Linked DNA regions of Homo sapiens: regions 1 and 2 are each linked to region 3. Evidence: promoter capture Hi-C in 16 types of primary human blood cells and fetal thymus (Javierre and others, 2016). All regions are on one chromosome and are shown on one strand. The core of a region is centred on a gene start or on the middle of the fragment in contact, and the rest is flanking DNA. Distances in the headings are between cores, read along the strand shown.

Region 1 (3,436 bases), core at 599-3,098, 2.0 Mb after region 3:
CTCCACCTCCCGGGTTCAAGTGATTATCCTGCCTCAGCCTCCCATCTTGTTAAAAACTTTTTTTTTTTTTTTTTTGAGACGGAGTCTCGCTGTGTTGCCCTTGCTGGAGTGCAGTGGCGTGATCTCGGCTCACTGCAACCTCCACCTCCTGGGTCCACGCCATTGTCCTGCCTCAGCCTCCCAAGTACCTGGGACTACAGGCACCTGCCACCACGCCCAGCTAATTTTTTTTTTTTTTTTTTTTTTTTTTTTTAGTAGAGACGGGGTTTCACCGTGTTAGCCAGAATGGTCTTGATCTCCTGACCTCGTGATCCACCTGCCTCGGCCTCCCAAAGTGCTGGGATTACAGGCGTGAGCCACTGCACCCGGCCTTGTTAAAAACTTTTAATCACTCACCAATGCTTTAAGAATAAAAATTCCCACATCTCCTAACCCATCCTAAATTTCGGCCATATTGAGTCTTCACAATTTCAAGTATGTTATTTCTTCTCTTCCTGAAATATCCATCCCCTACTTGTTCTCTGTGCTATTACACCTTCAAGATAAGCCTGGGGCTGGGAGTCGTGGCTCACACCTGTAATACCAACACTTTGGGAGGCCAAGGTGGGCGGATCACATGAGGTCAGGAGTTCCAGACCAGCCTGGCCAACATGGTGAAACCCCGTCTCTACTAAAAATACAAAAATTAGGCCAGGCGCAGTGGCTCACACCTGTAATCCTAGTACTTTGGGAGGCCAAGGCAGGCGGATCATTTGAGGTCAGGAGTTCGAGACCAGACTGGCCAGTATGGTGAAACCCCGTCTACTAAAAATATAAAAAAATGAGCCCAGCATGGTGGCACATGTCTGTAATCCCAGCTACTTGGGAGGCTGAGACATAAGAATCGCTTGAACCCAGGAGGCAGAGGTTGCAGTGAGCCGAGATCACGCCACTGCATTCCAACCTGGGCGACAAGAGCAAGACTACGTCTCAAAAAAAAAAAAAAAAAAAAAAAAAAAAAAGATAAGCTTCGGTTATCTCCTTCAGAAAGCCAACTTTGATTCAACATTCAGCAAATACTGAGCTATATGCCATGCTCTGGGTATATGCATGAGCATGACCCCTATCCTTTTGGAAGTTAAGAGTCTAGGAGAAGCAGACATCAAACAACACATCTACAGGCAATTACAAAATATAGTATGAAAGAGGAAAAAAACAAATAGCTATGAGAGGGAATAAAAAGGGGCTATAATTTAAAGAGGGTGTGTGTGAATCAGGTGACTCTCCCCAGGCACCCAATCATCATACATGTGCAACTATCATAGCACTTATCACATTATTGTATCATTGTCTCCTTAGCTGCCTATCTTCCTCTTTAGATGGAAATTCTTCAAACCAAAGGTCAGATAAATTGACACTAACAAGCAAAATCTTAAAAAGAATAAAAAAAAAGGCAATGTCCAAATTCTAGTCCAGGTTTTTAAACTCCCAATTTTACTAGTGCATTTAAAAAAATAAAATTATGGGCCAGAGGTGGTGGCTCAAGCCTGTAATCCCAGCACTTTGGGAGGCCAAGGTGGTAGGATTGCCTGAGGCCAGGAGTTTGAGACTAGCCTGGGCAACAGAGCAAGATCTTATCTCTACCAAAAATAAAAATGTTAGTTGGGCACAGTGGCACGCCCCTGCAGTCCCAGCTACTTGGGAGGCCAAAGTGGGAAGATCACTTGAGCCCAGAAAGTAGAGGCTACAGTGAGCTGTGATCAAGCCACTGCACCCCAGCCAGGGTGACAGAGTGAGACCTCGTCTCTTTTTTTTTTTTTTTTGAGACGGAGTTCCGCTCTTGTTGCCTAGGCTGGAGTAAAATGGTGCTCTCAGCTCATCACAACCTCCGCCTCCCGGGTTCAAGTGATTCTCCTACCTCAGCCTCCCGAGTAGCTGGGATAACAGGCATGCGCCACCATGCCCAGCTAATTTTGTATTTTTAATAGAGACGGGGTTTTCCCGTGTTGGCCAGGCTGGTCTTGAATTTCCAACCTCAGGCGATCCGCCAGCCTCAGCCTCCCAAAGTGCTGAGATTACAGGCGTGAGCCACTGCGCCCGGCCTAGATCTCATCTCTTAAAAAATAAAAATAAAAACTAAAATTACTTTTTTACAGTCTTAATATCTATAAAATCCATACTAGAGGTTTACAAAGGATTGTCAAGTACAGGATCTGGTAAACACACTTTCACAAGTGGGTAAGAATAATTTTTAATTAGCATATTTAAGTGGGTTTTTAAAGTTTTGTAGAACTGACATTAAAATGAGATTTTAAAAATAAGTGCCCCTAAAAGTCTAATCACCCTGCTATCATCATCATCTCCTGGGCTCCCCCACGTGTCCTTACCCATTTACACATATAATTTTTATATATTTGGCTGCAACCCAACAAGTGGACATACAACCATTTATTTTGTATGCCCCATTAGTTGGACATGCAAATGTTATCTATATTTTCAAATTTATAGATAACTTTATGTTGATCATTTTTGTGCTTAGAGCATTTTTTATTCTTTTCAGAATATATTTCTAAGGATAAATATCCAGAAGTATATTAAAGCTCAAAGCATGTGGACATCACTTTTTATTATTATTTTTTATTTTTTTGGTTTTAAGAAATAGAGAGTTTAACAGGCAAGAAGGAGCAAGAAAGGAGAAGGAAGAAGCTTCCCTGTACAGAGACAGAGGGATGGGGGCTCCAAAGCCAACAGAGGGAACCCCCGACTTCTTTATTATTATTTATTTTATTTTTAGCAAAGATGAGGTCTCAGCATGTTGCCCAGGCTGGTCTCGAACTCCTGGTCTCAAGTAATCCTCCTACCTCAGCCTCCCAAAGTGCTGAGTTTACAGATGTGAGCCACCTTGCCTAGCCATCATCATTTATTCTTCAATACAAATTTCCAAATTGCCTTTGAAAAACAATGTACCATTTCTTTCATTCTGAATGTACTCAACATTTTCTATTTACTAAAATGTGGTAAAATACACATAATGTAAAACTTACTGTATTAACCACTTTTAACCATATAGTTCAATAGTGTTAAGTACCTTCACACTGCTGGGCAACCAATCTCCAGAACTTCCTTCATCTTGCAGAACTGGAACTCTACACTCCTTAAACAACTTCCCATTCTCCTCTCCCCACAGCCCCTGGCAACCAGCAATCTACTTTCTGTCTCCATGAATTTGACTTCTCTAGGTACCTCATGTAAGTGGAATCACAGAGTATTTGTCTTTTTGACTGGCTTATTTCACTTAGCATGATGTCTTTCAGGTTCATTCAAGCGGTAGCATGTGTCAGAATTTCCTCCTTTGAAGGCTGAATAATATTTCACTACACGTATATACCACATTTGGTTTGTTCATTCATCCGCTGATGGACACTTGGCTTGCTTCCACCTTTTACCTACTGTGAAC
Region 2 (3,446 bases), core at 902-3,401, 1.9 Mb before region 3:
GTTGCCCCCGGAGCCACTGCCGGAAGTTTACCAGCTCACTTTCGGCGTCGCGCCCGCCTCCGTGGAGCAGGCCGGAAGTGGCTTTCCGGCAGCCGCCGCCGCAGCTCCGTAAAGCAAGATGGCACTACTCACTCTGAGGCTATTATCTCCGTTTTATATCTAGTATTCCTCTTCTCACCAGTTACTCTCGATTTCCGTCCCGCGCCCTAATTTTCTTCAGCACCACATTCTCATGTTTTTCTTTCATTCAGCCTTGGTGGAGTATGGTCTGGAGGCAACCTACGGCTAGCCTGAGCAACGTGGGGCACCATTTTGTACGGAAACTGAAGGCAGGGCGGGGGAGTGTGAGGCCTCCCGAGGAGGCCCGGCTTGAGAGAGAGCGTGGGAGGGAGAGCGTTGTTCACCGATGATGTATTTCCGCTTCTGGTCTGCCTGGTCGTTTTTGGTTGGATCGGCTTGTTGCGGGGAGGGAGGGGGGGAGATTGTTTGCAGCATAGAAGCTCCGCGGACGGGAAGGTAAACTGAGGTAAGGCTGTGCGGGGGGCTTTTGCGCATGGCTGGGTAGAATGGACGGGAGTAGGGTCCTTGGGATTGCGGAAGAGTGTGGAATTGGAGACGGGAGGCTTAGATGTCTCGGGTTGGACAGAGAAGGTGGGGTGGGGCTCGGGGTTACAAGGTGAATCGCAAAGCCGGGCTGGGGTGGAGTGGGACGAGCGGGAGACCACAGGAGATGGAGGAGAGCCTAGGGGTGCAGAGGAAAGTCTCGAAGGCGCTGGTTGAGGAGGGCCTGGGTCGAGAGGAGCTGGGACGGGGGAAGAGTAGAATCTAAAGTCCTTGAGGGCTAAGGAGAGAAGTTGAGGTAGGGACTGGTCGGAATACATGGGTGGGGGCGTGGTGAGAGTGTAGTTTTTGGGAGGCTGTAGAGTTGGAAGGGGCTGGTGGCTGCGGTTTTGATGCTGACATGACCATATACTTGGCCTTTGTTTCTCTGCAGCTCCCCAGAGACGCTCATCCTACAGCCTCAGCTCGGGCCCAGCCTTCTCTCTCCAGCTGCCACCACAGCCTGGAGGCGCCTGCCTCCACCCTCCCGAATGGTGCTCCTCCTAGCAGGCCTCGGTCCAGGATCCAAGCCCCCTTTGCCCCCTGCCTTGGAGCTGTTGCTCCGGGTTTGTCACAGTGGACTCCCTGTGGCGGGAAGGGAAGAACTTTTGCACAGACAAGGCTTCAGCTCTAGGAACCCCACTGACAACTTGAATCTCAACCTCTAACCTAGTGTGAGGTTCTTCCTGTGCCCACCTTTTCTGCCTTTTGAGAAGAGAAACTCTTCTCCTGGCCATCTAGAGCCCAGGAAGCCCCAAGCTGGGGCCCTGGTCCCAGCATGTCAGTCCTCTCTTGTGCATAGGGCTCTGCCCTCCCCCTGTCAGCATGGCTGAGCTCAGACAGGTTCCAGGAGGGCGGGAGACCCCACAGGGGGAGCTGCGGCCTGAAGTTGTAGAGGATGAAGTCCCTAGGAGCCCAGTCGCAGAAGAGCCTGGAGGAGGTGGAAGCAGCAGCAGTGAGGCCAAATTGTCCCCAAGAGAGGAGGAAGAACTGGATCCTAGAATACAGGTGAGAGCACTGAGAGCAGGGAGAGAAGGAGAGCCCAGATTCCAGCCTCCCTGAAGAGTGTTGGATGAATGAGGGCTTAGACTTACTCTGTCCCCAGTCTGCTGGGGCAGGAAAGGAGAACAAGTTTGTCAACAAATCATTGCAGGGTAATGTAACAAGTTCCAAAAGAGTTGTGTGTCTGAAGTGCTGATGGAGTGCAGAGAAAGGCCTGGCCTTAGTGCTTGGGAGGCATTGCTGAAAGCTTCACTGAAGGAGCAAAGTGTCACTTGGCAGTAGATGGAGGAGGCACACTTTAGGTCAGTGGAGGGTAGGTGTGTTGTACTTCTTTCCAGATAAGCAGAGGGGCTGCCACCTTAGTTAGGGATGCTGTGTGAGAGGAGATGACTTTGATACTGGGGGACAGTTTTGAGGCTGAGTGAGAGAATCTTTTCCCCTTTCTCACCTTCTCAGCGGTACCTTCCAGGGATGTGCGGCCCACATTGCTCTGATAATGTGTTTCACCCTTGTAAACAGTGAGACCTTTCCAGTGTTATAAAGGTAGCATCAACTTTAGATCTATAAAGAAACCCCATATGTTCAAGGATTTGTAACTTTTGTTGTGGCCAATCCTTAGTAACATACATACCTGGCCCTCAGGATAGTGGGTCTCCTAAAGGAATGGAAGAGCAGTTTATTGCCTTGGAGTGTCTACAATCTAGTTGGTAGGACAGGCAGATCTTTGTGTAGGAGACCTGGGGGTAGTCAGTGAGGAAGACCAACTCCATGTGGAAGAGATGCCTGGCCAATCAAAGCTGGGTTGCAGTGTTTCAGGGAATTGGCTGAGAATGACTTCCTGAGGAAGCTTCTTGGGCAGGTGACGACCAGGATGCTCCTGCATGTTTGGGGCTTGAGTCTGCCATTTGTTCCGGTCACATCTCCAAGACTCTGATGTTGTGGAAGTGACTCTTCTGTAGGTGAGCAAGAACATATGAAGGCTCAAATTCCTAGGCTTATCTGTCAGCAAACCTTTATTGGATTACTCCAGTGAGTTGGGAAGAAATCAAAGCCAGTCCTGGCATTCTTCCTTCACTCTCTGTGTGGGTTCCTGGGATATGTGTGTGTGTGTGGGTTCCTCTTCTACTGTGTCCATGCTTATAATGGAGCAGTGGTGAGCCATTTGTTTCTGGCATGAGTCAGTAATTTATTTCTGCTCTGCCTGACATTGCATTGAAAACAGCCAATTTTTCTTGCTATTTCTACAGATTTATCATCCTCTGAGGAAATCAGTTGTAGTGAAAAAAGTCTTGGGCTGAGTTTCACGCTACCTCCAACCCCATGATTTATGATTTTTATGGAAGTTTCTTTACGTTTCTGAGCCTCAGTTTCTTCATCTGTAAAGTGAGCAGTTGGTCTAGCTGATTTGCACAACTCATTCTTGCTCTGCTCTGACACAAGTCTACAGTTCTTTCTCAAACTCTTTTTGCTTGTTCCTTGGTGATAGTTTGTAGATAGCACTTTGGGAAAGAGCTGTCTCTCTGTTGCTTGTGGAGGAGGGCTGTGTAATGTGCATTATATGCCTCCCTACAGCCTTCCTTGCCCTGCTCCAGAGAAGGCTTCTGCAGAGGAGAATCCACTGTGGTCTCTTTACTTGGCCTCTACTACTCCTATGTATTTTTCCAGTGTCTGCATAGGCACATGGTAGTAGTAGGAAGAGTCATGCTTGCATTGTGCTGTCTAATAGGGTGGACTAGCTGCATGTGGCTATTTAAACACAATCAATTAAAATTAACATGTAAAAATGCAGTTCCTCGGCCAGGCATGGTGGCTCACACCTGTAATCCCAGCATGTTGGGAGGCCG
Region 3 (3,585 bases), core at 710-3,209:
CTGCAAAAGCAGTACTCTTTTTAACTGTTTCTATCACAACTTGGTCCAATACCTTGTGCAAACAAACATGATATGTATGGAGGTTGCTGTTACTAAAGAAACAAAAATTACAGAAAAAAGAAAATTACATTTCCAAAAGGCAGCATTATCTCTGAAAGAATATGGGCCAGGCATGATATCCATGCCTGTAGTCCCAGCTGCTCGGGAAGCTGAGGTGGGAGGATAGCTTGAGCCTAGAAGTTGGAGGCAGCAGTGGCACTGATGAGGCCATAGTGCCTGCGAATAGCCATGCACTCCAGTCTGAGCAACACAGCAAGACACAGTCTCTACAAAAATAAAAATAGGCTGGGCATGGTGGCTCATGTCTGTAATCCCAGCACGTTGAGAGGCTGAGGCAGGAGGATCTCTTGAGCCCAGGAGTAGAGACCAGCTTGGGTAACACAGTGAGACAGTCTCTACAAAAAATAAAAAATAAGGCCGGGCGCGGTGGCTCACGCCTATAATCCCAGCACTTTGGGAGGCTGAGGCAGGTGGATCACGAGGTCAAGAGTTCAAGACCATCCTGGCCAACATGGTGAAACCCTGTCTCTACTAAAAATACAAAAATCAGCTGGGCATGGTGGCGCACACCTGTAGTCCTAGCTACTCTGGAGGCTGAGACAGGAGAACCTCTTGAACCTGGGAGGCGGAGGTTGCAGTGAGCCGAGATTGTGCCACTGCACTCCAGCCTGGTGACAGAGCGAGACTCCGTCTCAAATAAATAAATAAATAAATAAATAAATAAAATAAAAAAATTAATGGGACGTAGTGGCGCATGGTGGTCCATGCCCATAGTCCCAGCTACTTGGAGGGCTGAGGTAGGAGGATCATTTGAGCCCACGAGTTCGAGGCTGCTGTGAGCCTTGATTACACCACTGCACTCCAGCCTGGGCGACAGAGCGAGACACTGTCTCAAAAATAAAAAAATTTAAAAAGCACATATGAAAGGTAACAGAAAAGTAGAAACTTTCCTGATAAAAGAGCATCTTCTTAAAATCCCTACTCTACCTCATGTTATAATCCTTTTACTTACTACTTAGTATTAAGGATACGTTCCCTATCTGTTTGAAACATGTTTGGCGCTGGGATTTGCTTCAAAGGAAGATACTAACAAGAAATAAGAAATTCCACAATGAAAACCCGCGGTGACCAAAAAGATAACAGTGATTTGGGGTAAAATTTTGACTAAAAAGATTAGGCTAGGCTGCGCGAGCATTTTTGGCCATGAAAGCACAGGAGGATGCTAGAAAAAACAGCACCGTGGAAAAAGCGTTTCCCCAGAAGTCTGGGAGCCCACCTTTGGCATGAAAAGCGGGAGCACAGGTTGTAGTGAGCCAAGATCGTGCCACAGCACTCCAGCCTGGGCAACAGAGCAAGACTCCGTCTCCAAAAAAAAGAAAAAGAAAAAAAGAAAAGTGGGAGCACAGAACAGAAAATACAGAATGCAAGCTGCCAATTATGGGAGAAAGATTATCACTCGGCCCCCAGCTGGCAGGGCCACACGATTACGTGACAAGAGAGTCCGCCTGCAATCGCAGCAGGCGGCTGGCAGAGCCCGGCGCGACCCCCAGCGAAGACTACCACTCCCAACTGCGCACGGGGCGCGCCGCCGGGGCCGCCAGGGCGGCTTCACGCGCAAGGCACTGTGGGACTCGTAGTCTTTCTCCCCACCAGCTCCTCGGAGGCGGAGAGACCCGATTTTTTTGTAAATGATCCGCCCTTCCAGGCCCTGCTTCTCTTTCCTCCCTTTCCCTCCCACCTCCTTCTTTCACCGAGAGTTTGAAAATTCCCGCGGAGCCGGCGCTAGAGCGCGGAACCATCGCGAGAACTCTGGTCCCTGCAGCCGCGATCTCCCGCCGGTTCTCCCCTCCCTCTCCGCCCTTTCCTCTGCTCCCTCCCTTCCGGGGCGTGTGGAACTCGGTTTTGTCGGCGCAGGGTAATGCGCAGAGCGGGGCCGGCGCTGTCCGAGGCGAGCAGGCAGCGTTGCAAGGGGAAGGACCCAGAAGCGCGGCGGGAGCAGCGACTGCGTTTTAGCCGCTGAGCGGTCTGCAGGCCTACAGCCCGCGAAGGCACTCTCGGGGGCGTGTGGCTCTGAGGTGGCCGGGGAGGTCGCAGGCGGCGGCCGGAGCGCAGAGGAGCGGCTTCAGCCGGGCGGAGGGGTGTGAGCCCGGCCCGTGGCGGCCACGTCTCCCGGGAGATGCTGTGACGGACCCGCACGGGAGGAGCTCGCGCCTGGCCTGGCGACCCGGTGGACTCGGCCCGCGGCGGCGCGCTCACCCGCCCCGTTCAGGTAGGGGGAAGGGAGGGAGGGGGTTGGGCCCGCGCGGCGGAGGGCGGGTCGCGCGGCCTGGACCCGCGGCGGCGGCGGCGGCGGCGGCGGCGGCGGCGGGGCTTCTGCCCCGCGAGCGCCGGGCCTAGGCCGGGCGTGCGCGGGGCCAACGGATGGGGCTCGAGGGGGCGAGCGGTGGCGGTGGCGGGTACGGCAGGCTCGCGGGCGCCGGGCTTCGTTACATAATCTCGGACCGGAGGAGCGGCGGCACATGGCGGCGGAGCGGCGCTGGTGGTTCGCGTCCTGCGCCGGCAGTCGGGTCCCTTTACGGACGGCCGGGGCCGCGACCCTTTCCCACTGTTCTCCCACGCGATGGACTCGTTGGCGGGCCTTTCCCCGAGGGAAGCGGCCGGCGTGCTGAGCCTGTCCTGTGTTGGCGTGTGTTCCACATGCGCTTGGGCCTGGCCACAGTGAGTAGTCCTGGCGGGGAAGAAGTTGGACTCGGGGCTCAGCCGTGAGGTTCCAGCTCACCCGATTGGTCAGATCAAGGAGATTTAAAATAAAAGCACATCTTGGGGTGCTTTGCCTTCCTTTTTCCTACCTGGGAAACAGGACGGTTTCTTTTGCCACTGGTTGACTGTTTTGGTTTGGGTGTTTTGTTTTGAGAGATGGGGAAATTTTGTTCTCAAAGCTTACGAGGTTCATACTATCTGTGTGCAAAGTTTTATGAGATGAGCGTTATTTTTATTTCCAAATCGTCAGTTGTAGAAATTTTTGGAAGAACTGGGTTCTTCATAGAACAAAACGTAAATCCTTTGGGGAAATCCTAAACGATATTTATTCTCAGAATATCCTAAAGAACCTGTAGATTTTAAGAACTGTCTTTGGCTGGGCGCAGTGGCTCCTGTCTGTAATCCCAGCACTTTGAGAGGCTGAGGCGGGAGGATCGCTTGAACCCAGGAGTTTGAGACCAGCCTGAGCAACATGGCGAGACCCCCCCTTTTTTTTTTTTAAACTGTTTTTTTGTGAGCTTTCACTGATAGAGTCTCTTAGGAGAGAAGAAATTAGAGTGGTTTACTTATTTCGGAGGATTTGACCTGGGATGACAAGCCCAGTTAAGGTTAATACTTGAAGGGATGTTTTAAGTGTGCCAAGCGCTATGGGAAGTCTACGTTGTCTCTGTACTGTGATTTTTGGATCCTGATCCTTCAGTAACATACTACCAAGCTGTCACGAGTTTGCAAACAACAATAATTATCTTGAAAAAATTTTTAAAA

Evidence for each region. Contacts are between HindIII fragments. The CHiCAGO score rates a contact against its expected background, and 5 or more counts as called.
Region 1: a fragment that was not itself captured here is called in contact with the fragment with the promoter of AHCTF1 in region 3 in 1 of 17 cell types (fetal thymus); the score reaches 7.7 in fetal thymus.
Region 2: a contact is called between a fragment that was not itself captured here and the fragment with the promoter of AHCTF1 in region 3, in 2 of 17 cell types (fetal thymus and total CD4 T cells). The highest score is 7.1, in fetal thymus.

The regions. Positions count from the first base shown.
Region 1 is chr1:244,976,858-244,980,293 of GRCh38, reverse strand. All of the region lies in intron 2 of DRC8 (dynein regulatory complex subunit 8), which reads right to left. Among named protein-coding and RNA genes, the nearest start is that of EFCAB2-AS1, 7.7 kb to the right of the region's middle. The HindIII fragment of the contact is 1,678 bases long and covers 1,010-2,687 here.
Region 2 is chr1:248,822,915-248,826,360 of GRCh38, reverse strand. It overlaps SH3BP5L (SH3 binding domain protein 5 like), which reads left to right and starts at 446. Exons shown (of 7, transcript NM_030645.3): 1 at 446-526; 2 at 995-1,608. The coding sequence starts at 1,426. RefSeq lists enhancers at 1-100, 85-344, 101-652, 715-774. The HindIII fragment of the contact is 600 bases long and covers 1,852-2,451 here.
Region 3 is chr1:246,930,322-246,933,906 of GRCh38, reverse strand. AHCTF1 (AT-hook containing transcription factor 1) reads left to right here and starts at 1,959. Exons shown (of 36, transcript NM_001323342.2): 1 at 1,959-2,329. RefSeq lists enhancers at 1,577-1,626, 2,747-2,836 and a silencer at 2,307-2,406. The HindIII fragment of the contact is 4,479 bases long and covers 1-3,001 here.